Linked DNA regions of Homo sapiens: all the other regions are linked to region 2. The links are contacts of gene promoters, found by promoter capture Hi-C in human tissues and cell types (Jung and others, 2019). All regions are on one chromosome and are shown on one strand. Each heading gives the region's core, a stretch centred on a gene start or on the middle of the fragment in contact. The rest is flanking DNA. Distances are from core to core; before and after follow the strand shown.

The links. The method cuts DNA at HindIII sites, captures the fragments that hold promoters and counts their contacts. A contact is called where the count stands out against the background at its distance.
Region 1: a fragment that was not itself captured here is called in contact with the fragment with the promoter of C2orf81 in region 2 in 1 of the 25 tissues and cell types used here (pancreas).
Region 3: a contact is called between a fragment that was not itself captured here and the fragment with the promoter of C2orf81 in region 2, in 2 of the 25 tissues and cell types used here (aorta and ovary).

Annotation. Positions count from the first base shown.
Region 1 is chr2:73,918,309-73,923,219 of GRCh38, forward strand. ACTG2 (actin gamma 2, smooth muscle) reads left to right here. Exons shown (of 9, transcript NM_001615.4): 9 at 1,124-1,557. The coding sequence ends at 1,267. Among named protein-coding and RNA genes, the nearest start is that of DGUOK, 6.1 kb to the right of the region's middle. The HindIII fragment of the contact is 7,332 bases long and covers 1-4,911 here.
Region 2 is chr2:74,419,109-74,423,826 of GRCh38, forward strand. C2orf81 (chromosome 2 open reading frame 81) reads right to left here and starts at 2,511. Exons shown (of 3, transcript NM_001316764.3): 1 at 2,435-2,511. The coding sequence starts at 2,452. WDR54 (WD repeat domain 54) reads left to right here and starts at 2,622. Exons shown (of 10, transcript NM_032118.4): 1 at 2,622-2,708; 2 at 3,045-3,267; 3 at 3,762-3,824; 4 at 4,211-4,277; 5 at 4,370-4,423. The coding sequence starts at 3,046. RefSeq lists a silencer at 2,442-2,721 and an enhancer at 3,122-3,301. The HindIII fragment of the contact is 15,765 bases long and covers 1-4,718 here.
Region 3 is chr2:74,099,381-74,103,970 of GRCh38, forward strand. TET3 (tet methylcytosine dioxygenase 3) reads left to right here. Exons shown (of 12, transcript NM_001287491.2): 11 at 1-232; 12 at 1,013-4,590. The coding sequence ends at 2,796. Among named protein-coding and RNA genes, the nearest start is that of BOLA3, 46 kb to the right of the region's middle. RefSeq lists an enhancer at 70-569. The HindIII fragment of the contact is 4,695 bases long and covers 1-4,590 here.

The DNA.
Region 1 (4,911 bases), core at 87-2,586, 500 kb before region 2:
AAGCCAGAGTTTTCTCATGAGAAGTGTCCAACAATAAAATTTGTTACCTTGCTAGTGGCTGTGCATTCCCAGTCCTTGAAATAATCTGTTCAAGGAGCATTTGTGTGACTTTTGTCTGCCTGGATAATAAAATAACTTCTAAAGATCCTTCTTATTCTACAATTCCATGATCTCTGTGATTTAGGGAATATGTAAAGAGATTCTACGGCAACAAAAAAAATCAATTTATTATCTGGTTTGCTCTAGCACTGAATTCTTAGACCCTTCCAAAACTGGAAAACTAGTTGAAGAATCATAGTCCTTCTGGATCCCCTTTGAAGTAGAGTTCAAAGTTGTTTGACCTGACAATCAATTTCTAAAAGCTAAGCCCAGGATTCCTAGTGGAAAGCATGAACAATGTAGATATAAATTTGAGGACTTCTGAGATATAATTGGCTGATGACAGATAGCTCAAAACAGGGTTTGGGTAGACTGGTTTATACTCAGGCATGGAGGAAGCCCAGCCCAACCTGCCCATGCTTCCAAACTCCAGGCAAGAACAGAACAAGGTTCCCCTTATAGATATTTGTATTGGTCAGCTATTGCCAAGTAACAAACAACCGTGGAATCTCAGGGGCACCTAACAATGAGCATTTATTACTCGTGCATCTGCGCATCACCTGGAAGTTAGCTGATCAAGGTCAGGCTTGGCTAAGTAAGTGGCTCTGAATTAACTGCAGGTCCAGCCAGCTCAGGTCAAGTCCATATTTCTCATTAATGGGCCCAGGCTGAAGGGCTAGCTGCTTCCCAGGGGCAGCTCTTCTCATGCACATGGCAGAGCAAGAGAACATGCCCAAGTACACAAGCATATTTCAAGCCCCTGTTTGTGTTATGTCTGCTAATATCCCATTGGTCAAAGCAAACACAATGCCCAGCCTTACAGGGAGCAGTGCACTCTTCCCATGGAAGGAATAAGGGAAGAGGGGGGAAGTGAAGGTTTTGAGCAATAATCTAATCTATCACAATGTTTCTCCTGTTCTTTTCTGACCATGGGGCTCCCCTTTTCTGGGATAAGTAGATTTTTGGACCACCTTGCTTATTCCCTTGGGGACTGATCATGATTCACCACATTTGTTCTTTGCAGATTATTGCTCCCCCAGAGCGGAAGTACTCAGTCTGGATCGGGGGCTCTATCCTGGCCTCTCTCTCCACCTTCCAGCAGATGTGGATCAGCAAGCCTGAGTATGATGAGGCAGGGCCCTCCATTGTCCACAGGAAGTGCTTCTAAAGTCAGAACAGGTTCTCCAAGGATCCCCTCGAGACTACTCTGTTACCAGTCATGAAACATTAAAACCTACAAGCCTTACTTCTCTGTGTGGGGCTCTTTTTTCCTGGGCTATGTCTCATACACAGTGCTAAGGACTTTTCACACATTACTTTTAATCCATGCAATAGTGCTGTAAGGTAGGTGCTATCATTATACCCATATTACAGATGAGGAAATTGAGGCTCAGAGAAGTCAAGGACTTGCGAAGATCACACAGATTCCAGATTAAAATTCAAGTATCTGACTGCAAAGCTAGTGCTCCTTCTACTGTGTCATCTTGTTTTCTTTTCCTTGAATATAAGTAAGAATGAGGCTAGATGACTCTTGGGATGGGGGTAGAAACACAGACTTTCAGTGATGTAAGTCCTTGTGCTCTAGGGCAGTTCACTAGGGAATATGAACGCAGTCGTGACATAGGCTTATGGGATGTGACATGAAGAGTTCACATACAATGTTACTGTCACTCACGTGAAGGAGGGTCACCGTGGGCTTAAGATCTCTATGATCTCTATGAGGTTGTCATTGAGGATTAGGCTGTATTTTTTTTTGTTTTTTTTTTGAGACAGAGTCTCACTCTTGCCCAGGTTGTGGTGCAGTGGTACGATCTTGGCTCACTGCAACCTCTGCCTCCTGGGTTCAAGTGATTCTCCTGCCTCAGCCTCCTGAGTAGCTGGGATTACAGGCATGCGCCACCACGCCTGGCTAATTTTTGTATTTTTAGTAGAGATGGGGTTTCACCATGTTGGCCAGTCTGGTCTTGAACTCCTGACCTCAGGTGATCTGCCCACCTTGGCCTCCCAAAGTGCTGGGATTACAAGTGTGAGCCACCGCGCCTGGCCAGGTTGTATTTTGCCCCAAAATTAATTAAGAAAGGAGTAGCATCGTTAGGAAGGACATTTTCTCTCCCTCCCTCTCCTGTTCCTCCTCCTCCTCCTCCTCCTCCTCCTCCTCCTCCCCTCTTTATCAATTTCCTCCCTACCCACTAGGTTAATTTTGTTTAATTTTACAAGTATTTACTGAATTTTTGGCATCTGGAATTGCCGGGTAAGGCCACAAGGGATTTATGTTTCCAACAAAGATGATTCCTGCCCATTAGGGTCTCACTGCATACAGGCAGAGATAGACACATGCATACAAGACAGTGACACGAAGTGAAACAAGCGCCTAAAAGTACTATGAGAAAATAAGGGATGATAATAATAGCTAACATGTATTCAGGCCAGGTTAAGAGTTTTGCATGGATTTCCTCAATTAATCCTCACCACAACCCTATGAGGCAGGTACTAGCATCATTTCCCATTTTATAGCTAGTTTACTGGTTACTAGGTCACCCAGCTAGTTCACCTTAGAACTAGATCCTCACATTGGGCTGGTGCACCTTTCACCTCCCCACCTAGCAAAGTCCCAGCCTTCGTGCCCCCATCAGATCCCACCTGGTCCATGAAGCTTCCCAGACATACCCATTTGGAGACAGTGGAGTCCAGTGGTTAAGCGCAGACACTTCAATGCCAGACATTCCTTTCACCCTCCCAGCACTTGATCTCTGTGGGTGGGGTGGGATGGAGGAGCGGCTTTCATAAGCCCTTAGGGGATTTCTGTGTGAGGACCAGAAGCAGACCCTGAAATGAGGATTCCCTGCAAACGACTTATTAAAGAAGTGCTCTGAGGACAGCTGGTAAGCAGAGTGCGGGGGAGGGGGGCGCAGAAGAGGAAAGGGGAGGAAATCTGTCAAGGGGGTAATTGCAGATAATGTCCTGGAGAGGGCAGCTTCAGCCTGGCCCCGCCCACTGGGAGCTCTGGAGTCTAAGGTTAGCCTGGTGAAGGACAGGGAGCCAGGCTTTCACAGTCCCACCTGCCAGTGGTTGGTGAGGGCGCTCCCTGGGAGGACTGAAGTCCTAGGCTTTCCACCTGTATCGGCAAAGGCCTCCTCCAAAGAAGAGCTGCAGGCTCTGGTTGCTGGAAGAGAAGGCACAGGAGGAGGCGGGAGCGATCTGAGATGTAGGGCACCGACACTGCGCTATAGAGGGGCATCCGGACCTCCACATGGAGAAGGGCAGGCTGCCCAGACTGTTCCCACAAACCCCCCGCACCCATCTGACCTCCCTTCCCCATCCTTCCACCCCTACTCCAGTCTTACTCTATTTCAAGTTTAAAAAATGCTGACCTAGATTCTTCAATGGATATGGAGTTATCCACTGACAGAGAGAGGGACAGTGGCTTGAGGAAAGTGGAAATCCAACTGGAAGTCTATTAAAGATCGACAAAAGTCAGGTGTGATGGTTCACACCAGTAATCCCAGCTACTTGGGACGCTGGGGTGGGAAGATCCTTTGAGCCTAATTCAAACCAGCCTCTGACAAGCGAGACCCTATCAGAGAGAGAGAGAGAGAAACAATGTCCCAGGCACTGAGGGCCTAAGAAGGCAGCCATTACTTATTATGTGTTATATAATGTCTATTGGGTGGTAACTGTGTGGCAGGTGTGGCAGGTGGATTCTCTCTCTTAATCCTCACCCCCAGGTCACTGGAATCCAGAGCCCACACTGTTAACCACCTTTTGATACGTCTCCCTTTATGATTAGGTGTATCAATACAGTTCATTCAGGGGAGCAGAGCCATTATGGGTATTATGGGAATAAGGGCTTTATTACAGGAATGACACTTTCCCCAAAGACTGAAGGAGCTGGAAAAGTGAAAGTCTGCAAGGAACTGTGGGATACTCCAAGAGGAGTCACAAATGGGTGGAGGACTAGGTGAAACCTATCTGCTGGGCACCTCTGTCTGTCATAGCATCTGACTAGAAGATTTCCACAGAGGAATGGCTGACACTCCCACTCTGCCTTCCAAATCTCACCCCAGGTCCTCTTTTGGCCAACTCTAACTCAGAGCCTTGTTGGTAGGGCGTTCTGGAAGTGTACTTTCCAATTTAACCAAATCGATTTAGCACAATCCAGCACATTATAAAATCTTCAAAGTAGGTGAGATATAGCTGGCTAAAAGTCCAGGCTGCAGAATAAAGTTTGGGCCACATTTTTGTATGTTTATCTCCCTTTTTTAATGGCTGCATGACATTTTAAATAATATTGGTCAGTATTTTATGTATACGGTAGCATTTAGAAACACTGGAAAAATAGTAAATCCTTCAGAGCTGCACTTCAAGGACTAAGCAGAGTGTCTGGCATGCAGTAGATGCTCAGCAAATATTGGATGAATGAATGGATGCTGAATGACTAGAGTTCTTGCAGGACAACATTTTGCCCAGGACAAAATCGCCCAGGGGCAGGAAGTGGCCTCGTTCTCCCAGGTAAGGGGGAGGTAATTCTACTCACCAATATGCCACTACTTTCAGTCTTCTGGCTAGCACCCAAATGGGATGAAAACTCCGTGTTTACTGCTTCGAAGAGGAAATGATCACCACCTCTTTGGGGTGTCTTCTTTCCTCATGAAGATCCCCTTAATTGTACTTCCTCATGTGCAAAAGTGGGGCCCCAACCCTCTTCCTTGGCCACAGCTGATTGAACCATGATTAGATACCTGAACACAGCTGGGCCAATCAGATTCTCCCTTCTGGGAATTTGGAATTGGGACCTAAATAAATAAAAAACAT
Region 2 (4,718 bases), core at 1,261-3,760:
AGGCAGAGTTTGCAGTGAGCTGAGATCATGCTACTGAACTCCAGCCTGGGTGACAGAGCGAGACTCTGTCTCAAAAAAGAAAAAAAAAACTAATAAAATAAAAAATAGAAGAAGAAAAATGGCCAGGCACAGTGGCGCACACCCACAGTACCAGCTGCTCGGGAGGCTGAGGCAGGGGGATTGCTTGAGCCCAGGAGTTCAAGTCCAGCTTGGGCTATATTGCAATAAAAATTTAAACTATAAGAAGAAAAACCATTTAAGATCCCAAAGATAAGCAAAGGACATGACATTTCACAAGAGAGGGACTGTAGATGACTAATAAATATAGTATTGACATTCTGATTTCTAGTTCATCAAATTGGAATTATTTTAAAAACAAGAATACTCAGCATTGGCAAAGGTTTAGTGTGATACCATGCTGCAACAGTATGCATGAAGACATTAAAAAATGTTTTCACTTCCTCAACCCTGCAATTTCAGTTCTATAAATACAACCAAAAGGCATTTTCTGAAATGAAGATAAAAATATATTCTCCAACAAATTCTCTGCGGTATTTTTATAATAGCAGAATATTGAAAACATGTCTTTAAAAAGAGAATAAATAATTGACATGCTATATATACTGAAATATTATGCAATGATTAAAGGTAATCTTTTTTTGTTTGTTTGTTTTTGTTTTTGAGACGGAATCTCGCTCTGTCACCCAGGCTGGAGTGCAGTGGCAAGATCTCGGCTCACTGCAACCTCTGCCTCCCAGGTTCAAGCAATTCTCCTGCCTCAGCCTCCGGAGTAGCTGGGATTACAGGCGCCTGCCACCAGGCCTGGCTAATTTTTTTTCTATTTTTAGTAGAGATGGGGTTTCGCCATGTTGGCCAGACTGGTCTTGAACTGGCCTCAAGTGATCTGCCCACCTTGCAGGCATGAGCCACCAACCCAGCCATTAAAGGTAATCTTTAGAAAGAATTTGCAATGGCATAAAGCAAATGTTTATGATGTAACGTTAATTGAAAGAAGCAGGATACAAACTTACACATCAATTATGATCTCATATATGTAAACCACTATGTGTTCAACAAAAGGAAAACTTCAAAATGATAACAGAGGATACGTTTCCTTCCTATGCTCTTTTCTATTTTGTAAGTTCTCTACAATGAGTTTGTTTCCTTTTGTAATCACTTAAAAAAAAAAAAAGACTAGTCCCCAAAACTCACTTTAGAGACATAAAAAGTTTACAAACAATCTCTTGGGAGCTCCCTCAATTCCCCACAACAGTCTCCCTGAACCTGGTTCCTTCCAAAATGTACTTCCAAATGTGATCTTCCCAAACCTTTGCCTATTGCCCCGCTAAAACCTTGTCTCATATCTGTTTCCTAAAATTCATTATCCCCCCAAATCTGCTGTTTCCTAAGTCTTGCAGAACTCAAAATCCCTGAAGTCTCATTAACCCTATCCACCAGTGAGAACAGCCCTGTAGCAAGCACCAGGAGTGGCCCATAGCCCAGGCCAAGCTTGACTAGAGCAGGGCTGACTGGACTGAGTAAAGAGAGTTGTTTCCTTAGACCTCCCCTCCCAGCCTCGCATCTGACACCCGTGATGGTGACCAGAAGGGACAGAGATATTTTTGCACAAAGGCTCTTCAAATCCGTTTTCTTTCTTCTTCTTCTTTTTTTTTTTTTTTTTTTTTTTTTTTTGAGACAGTCTCTCTCTGTCACCCAGGCTAGAGCGCAGTGGCGCGATCTCGGCTCACTGCAACCTCCGCCTCCCGAGTTCAAGCAATTCTCCTGCCTCTGCCTCCCGAGTAGCTGGGATTACAGGCACCGCGCCACCACATCCAGCTAATTTTTTGTATTTTAGTCGAGACGGGGTCTCGCCATGTTGGCCTGGCTGGTCTTGAACTCCTGAGCTCAGGCAATCCTCCCGCCTCAGCCTCTCAAAGTGCTGGGATTACAGGCATGAGCCATTGAGACCGGCCCCGTTTTCTTTATTTTAAAATTGATTGGCTCTTAAACAATTTGACTTTCAAGTGCAGTCTCTGAATTATTTAATATATTTCTTCCTCTTGAAATTCTCGAAATAGATTTTTTCTGTTATCTTCCCTCTCTAAATGCTCATCCATTTAAATACGCACCACCATGTAAGAGACTTACTACATTCATTAGCTGTTTCAAAATCCACTTCCTGTTCTCGGGCTCTACACCACCCACTGACCCTTTCCCTCATGGCTTGAGTGTAACAAAGCGTTTGAGTGGGCACCGTGCAGGTGTAGGTTTTCTGCCCGAGTACCGACGTGGCTTCCTTGGTCATCTAAACTCCCGCGCGGTGGGCGGGAGCAAGTAGGGGCACTGGGCGGCCCAGAGCCAGCCCACTGTTCCCGACACCGACCTTAACGGCCGACCCTGGCTCTGGCGCATCCCCAGCTGAACTGAAGCTCACCGAGCCTTCGTGCGCCATCGCCAACGCGGTCGCAGCAACGCTGGTGTTTCTGCTGCATCCGGGCCGCGTAAGCCACCTAACAGTCGCCTGGGCAACCACGGGCTCGGGGTCGCTCGCCCCGCCCACAGTTGCCCCGGCAACCGCGCCGCCCGCGGCACGTTCCGGCCGCTCACCCCGCCCAAGGGCCGTGCGTACGTGCGTCGTCTCTATGGTGGCGGCGGATTTGGAGGGACCCTACGAACCAGGAGTCAGGCGAGCCGATCTGGGGCTGCAGGTGTTACCTCTGATCTAGGCCGGGGGCTTCAGGGATCCGAGCCGAGGGAGAAAGCCTTGGGGGCTTCATCACACTTATTTGGCTCGCGGGCTTGGGGCCATCGGGTGGTCCTGTGTCATCCCCATTCCTCCTCTGCGATTCCCCCGTCGCCCCAAAACAGCCCTGGGACTCCCCTGTCTTGCTCCTCGAGACCCTCCCCCATCACCGTCCTCTGGGCACCCCATCCTATGACCCAGTCTCAGGCATCTTCCGAAATGCTCGATGATAGCCGCCCTCGGGCATCTCCGCTGCGTCTGTTTGTAGCGCGCCTGGTGATTCGGCTGCACCCCCACACAGGATGTTCCGCTGGGAGCGCTCCATTCCCCTGCGAGGCTCGGCCGCCGCCCTGTGCAACAACCTCAGTGTGCTGCAGCTGCCGGCTCGCAACCTCACGTATTTTGGCGTGGTTCATGGACCAAGCGCCCAGCTTCTCAGCGCTGCTCCTGAGGGTGTGCCCTTGGCCCAGCGCCAGCTCCACGCTAAGGAGGGTGCTGGAGTGAGTCCCCCACTTATCACTCAGGTGAGGCATGGAGCTGGGAGTGATGTTGCTGAACCCAGTCCTACCCCCAGCCTTTTCTCTCCAAACCTTCAGGAGCAGGCATGTCCTAACCTCAGAATCTCCCCAGGCATGTCCTAACCTCAGAATCTCCCCTCTCCTGCCGGGCGCGGTGGCTCACGCCTGTAATCCCAACACTTTGGGAGGCTGAGACGGGCACTTGAGGCCAGGAGTTCGAGACCAGCCTGGCCAACATGGTGAAACCTCTTCTCTACTAAGAATACAAAAAAAATTAACCGGGTGTGGTGGCGTGCACCTGTAATCCCAGCTACTTGGGTGGCTGAGGCAGGAGAATCGCTTGAACCCAGGAGGCTGAGGTTGCAGTGAGCCGAGATGGCGCCACTGCACTCCAGCCTGGGCCACAGAGCAAGACTCCGTCCCCCAAAAAAAAAAAAAAAACAAACAAACTCATCTTCCCTGCTTTGATTTTCTCCCTACACTGATGCACCTCCCTCCAGGTCCACTGGTGTGTCCTCCCCTTCCGAGTGCTGCTGGTACTCACCTCACATCGAGGAATACAGGTAAGAAGAGGACTCTCCTGCTTGCCCCACCAGAGCCTTCTCAGCTTCCCTGCCAGGCTTCCAGACTTTCCCACTTGCCTCTAAACACTTCCAGACTTTTCACATGCTTGGCCCACTCACTCTTTTTCTATTTCTTATCTTCAATCTTTCCATCTTTTCCAGTTTCCAAGTGCCACCTCCAGTATCTGCCCCTTTACTAGCTGTATGTCCTTACACTATTAACTTCTCACTCTCACTGTTGTCCTCTGAAAAAATTAGGATAAAAATAGTACCTACATCCCAGATTTGTTTTGAGGATTAAATGGGCTAAGGCTAACACGGATATGTGAAGTACTCAGCAGAGGTCAGTTGGGTTATGCCCCCTGGTTCTTGCCCCGGTCTTCCAGATGTACGAGTCCAATGGCTACACCATGGTCTACTGGCATGCACTGGACTCTGGAGATGCCTCCCCAGGTACCTGCAGGACCAAGTGGGGTGGGGGCAGGGAGTGTTTGCTAGGGCTGCAGGAGGGGATATTTCTGATCATTCTCCCCTTTCATATTCAGTACAGGCTGTGTTTGCCCGGGGAATTGCTGCCAGTGGCCACTTCATCTGTGTGGGTGAGGGAGCCAAGTGCAGGGCATGGAGGGGTGCTGGGGCATGTGGGCTGTGGCCAGGAGAATAATGAGGGCCTGAGGAAATTGTGGAAAGTTAGAGGGAAGGGTGGAAGTGGAGTGGAATCAGAGACTCCAGTAAACCATGGAAGGGTTCAGAGGGTCAGGGTGGGATAAGACAAGGCTAGTGAATGAAGGGGCATGGCCGTTGGAGCAGTGAGAGGGGGTTTTGTTACTAAGGTTTCTGGGATGGAGTAAGTGTTGAGTATGGTGGCTGGAGACCCAGGAGGGTCAGGAAGTC
Region 3 (4,590 bases), core at 1,042-3,541, 320 kb before region 2:
GGTAGCGAGGAGAACCAGAATGCAAAGGTGGGCAGCGGAGCCATCCAGGTGCTCACCGCCTTCCCCCGCGAGGTCCGACGCCTGCCCGAGCCTGCCAAGTCCTGCCGCCAGCGGCAGCTGGAAGCCAGAAAGGCAGCAGCCGAGAAGAAGAAGATTCAGAAGGAGAAGCTGAGCACTCCGGAGAAGATCAAGCAGGAGGCCCTGGAGCTGGCGGGCATTACGTCGGACCCAGGTGTGTGGGGGGAGGGTGCCCGCTTGGAGTCACAATGGCACTGTCCTCATGGGGGCCCCTGCTCTTCCACGCACCCTCCTGCATCACACTGGAACTGGGGCCTCTGCTTAATTGTCAGTCAGAAGGGTATCTGCAGCAGCCACAGCCAGCCTGATAGGAGGCCGTGGGGATGCAAGTACAGCAGGACTTGTTATCTGCGTGGAAGTGAGCTTGGTAGAGGGGAAGCACTGGGTTTCTCCTCTAGTTTGCATCCCTCAGAGAATCAGAGGCTCCCCTCTGAGCTCTAGTTTGCTCCCCTCTGAGATACTGAGGTGAGTAGCAGCACTTCAGGACATGTGGGTGTGTGCCAGGGCAGCAGGGCTTATGGGCGGAGACGGTTGCTGGCAGGCATCTGAGTTCTCATTCTCCTGGCCCTGGTCCCTGCAGTGATCCCGACTGGGCTGGGCACAGAGTGGGTGGTGGTGGTTCAGTACAACTTCTGGAGTTCTCTAGGGTGAAGAGAGGAGTCGGTGGGGGTACTGTGGACCCCGCATGAGGTGCTTCTCAGCAGGGATCGCCTCCTCCCACCCCCAGTGGGGCTGGGGCTGGGGCCTGTGCTGAGCAGGGCCCAGGGAGTACGACCCGTTCTGGGCTGGACATGCCTCAGCACCTCACCTGCCTGTCCCAAAAGAGGAAACATCCCTGGGAAAGAGGGAGGGTCCATCCCCAGTCCCCGACCCAGGGCCTCTCCAGGCTGTGGTGTTGTCTGCCCCTCTGCCATCTTGCCTTCTGTTTCCCCAGGCCTGTCTCTGAAGGGTGGATTGTCCCAGCAAGGCCTGAAGCCCTCCCTCAAGGTGGAGCCGCAGAACCACTTCAGCTCCTTCAAGTACAGCGGCAACGCGGTGGTGGAGAGCTACTCGGTGCTGGGCAACTGCCGGCCCTCCGACCCTTACAGCATGAACAGCGTGTACTCCTACCACTCCTACTATGCACAGCCCAGCCTGACCTCCGTCAATGGCTTCCACTCCAAGTACGCTCTCCCGTCTTTTAGCTACTATGGCTTTCCATCCAGCAACCCCGTCTTCCCCTCTCAGTTCCTGGGTCCTGGTGCCTGGGGGCACAGTGGCAGCAGTGGCAGTTTTGAGAAGAAGCCAGACCTCCACGCTCTGCACAACAGCCTGAGCCCGGCCTACGGTGGTGCTGAGTTTGCCGAGCTGCCCAGCCAGGCTGTTCCCACAGACGCCCACCACCCCACTCCTCACCACCAGCAGCCTGCGTACCCAGGCCCCAAGGAGTATCTGCTTCCCAAGGCCCCCCTACTCCACTCAGTGTCCAGGGACCCCTCCCCCTTTGCCCAGAGCTCCAACTGCTACAACAGATCCATCAAGCAAGAGCCAGTAGACCCGCTGACCCAGGCTGAGCCTGTGCCCAGAGACGCTGGCAAGATGGGCAAGACACCTCTGTCCGAGGTGTCTCAGAATGGAGGACCCAGTCACCTTTGGGGACAGTACTCAGGAGGCCCAAGCATGTCCCCCAAGAGGACTAACGGTGTGGGTGGCAGCTGGGGTGTGTTCTCGTCTGGGGAGAGTCCTGCCATCGTCCCTGACAAGCTCAGTTCCTTTGGGGCCAGCTGCCTGGCCCCTTCCCACTTCACAGATGGCCAGTGGGGGCTGTTCCCCGGTGAGGGGCAGCAGGCAGCTTCCCACTCTGGAGGACGGCTGCGAGGCAAACCGTGGAGCCCCTGCAAGTTTGGGAACAGCACCTCGGCCTTGGCTGGGCCCAGCCTGACTGAGAAGCCGTGGGCGCTGGGGGCAGGGGATTTCAACTCGGCCCTGAAAGGTAGTCCTGGGTTCCAAGACAAGCTGTGGAACCCCATGAAAGGAGAGGAGGGCAGGATTCCAGCCGCAGGGGCCAGCCAGCTGGACAGGGCCTGGCAGTCCTTTGGTCTGCCCCTGGGATCCAGCGAGAAGCTGTTTGGGGCTCTGAAGTCAGAGGAGAAGCTGTGGGACCCCTTCAGCCTGGAGGAGGGGCCGGCTGAGGAGCCCCCCAGCAAGGGAGCGGTGAAGGAGGAGAAGGGCGGTGGTGGTGCGGAGGAGGAAGAGGAGGAGCTGTGGTCGGACAGTGAACACAACTTCCTGGACGAGAACATCGGCGGCGTGGCCGTGGCCCCAGCCCACGGCTCCATCCTCATCGAGTGTGCCCGGCGGGAGCTGCACGCCACCACGCCGCTTAAGAAGCCCAACCGCTGCCACCCCACCCGCATCTCGCTGGTCTTCTACCAGCACAAGAACCTCAACCAGCCCAACCACGGGCTGGCCCTCTGGGAAGCCAAGATGAAGCAGCTGGCGGAGAGGGCACGGGCACGGCAGGAGGAGGCTGCCCGGCTGGGCCTGGGCCAGCAGGAGGCCAAGCTCTACGGGAAGAAGCGCAAGTGGGGGGGCACTGTGGTTGCTGAGCCCCAGCAGAAAGAGAAGAAGGGGGTCGTCCCCACCCGGCAGGCACTGGCTGTGCCCACAGACTCGGCGGTCACCGTGTCCTCCTATGCCTACACGAAGGTCACTGGCCCCTACAGCCGCTGGATCTAGGTGCCAGGGAGCCAGCGTACCTCAGCGTCGGGCCTGGCCCGAGCTGTCTCTGTGGTGCTTTTGCCCTCATACCTGGGGGCGGGTTGGGGGTGCAGAAGTCTTTTTATCTCTATATACATATATAGATGCGCATATCATATATATGTATTTATGGTCCAAACCTCAGAACTGACCCGCCCCTCCCTTACCCCCACTTCCCCAGCACTTTGAAGAAGAAACTACGGCTGTCGGGTGATTTTTCCGTGATCTTAATATTTATATCTCCAAGTTGTCCCCCCCCCTTGTCTGGGGGGTTTTTATTTTTATTTTCTCTTTGTTTTTAAAACTCTATCCTTGTATATCACAATAATGGAAAGAAAGTTTATAGTATCCTTTCACAAAGGAGTAGTTTTAAATTCCATTTAAAATGTGTATTTATTGGATTTTTTAAAAGCGACAATAGTAATGGTAAAGGATGGGCAGGAAAGGCCAGTAGTGCTCCCCCGCCCAGTCTCGCTGGGTCTGGCGAGCCAAGCCCCTCGGGCGCTGGCGAGGTCCTCAGCCATCTGCCCCTCGAGAGCCAAGCGCGGACGGTAGCCACCCAGTTCATCCCTCCCGACATACACCCCTTCCCTTTGGGGAAGGGAGCCTCAGGACAGCTTCTGTCCTCTCTGATAGGATGGGAGAGTCTGCAGAAAACCATCTGGGGTCCCTTTTCCAGTCCCCGGCTTGGAGTCGAAGGGCAGATGCACCCCAGGCCAGCCCCACGAGATGCTGGCATAGCTTTCCCCAGAAACCAGGTTGGAAGTAGATGGCTTCAAGCTTGCTAGTCTCCACACTGAATCCTCTGTCCGTTATTTATGGAGTCACACGATGTCATGGTTCACTAGGCAGCACCTCACGCTGGAGCTGGAGTGCGAGGTTCTTAGGGGCCGTGCCCACCATGTTGCCAAGCCAATGCATGCTGAGCTGAAGGAATTTGTCTTAGTGGCAGTTTTTTAAAAAATGCCCCCAAAGTCTATGCTGATACTGAAAAAGGGCTACTGTATCTTTAAAAACAGGAAGTTGAACCCAAGCTGTGAAAAGCCAGTGGTGCTCTGTGCATGGTGCTGTGCGGAGCCTGGTGCTGTAGTGTTGTGCTGGGACTTTCTTGACTCTTGGGCAGGTCACATCCTACAGGAGCTCAGCAGACCAGTGTAACAACAGTTAATGCATCTATCCTGATCCCTGAATTTCCACATTGGACAATGGTGCATGCCTCACACCTGAGCCTGCTTCCTCCATGCTGTCATTGGGTTCGGGGGCCTACACTTAACAATTTTAAAGTGCAAGAGTCAAACATTTTCAACAGGTTGCTATAATTTTCCTCCCTAATTGGTGCCATTTCTCCATTTGATCATTTTCTTTTTTTCCTTTCTCCCCTCTTCATCCACTTTAATATAGCTGTTCTGAAATTCTGGTGCATTCATTCGGTTCTTTGAAATGAGAATGTGGTGCTTAATTTTTGTGACGTTGTCGAGAGAGGTTGGGCCTGATGGGAGCAACACTCATCATCACCAAGTCAAACTTTGTTGGAGTGTTGGTTTTTCTTGTGATATTAGCAGAAATGATCTCATGCTAGCCATGTGGATGTGTGTGTGGTGAATGGGGGGCTTCATCAGGACACACAGAGGGGAATGTGGCCACACGGTGGATGACCACCAAGCCCTGAGATGAACAGGTATTTACTGAGCAGTTGTATTCAGATATGGGTCTTCATGAATCATGTTTAACAATCAGATGACCGCTATAGGCAAGTTCCTGAGCTTCCGGGTG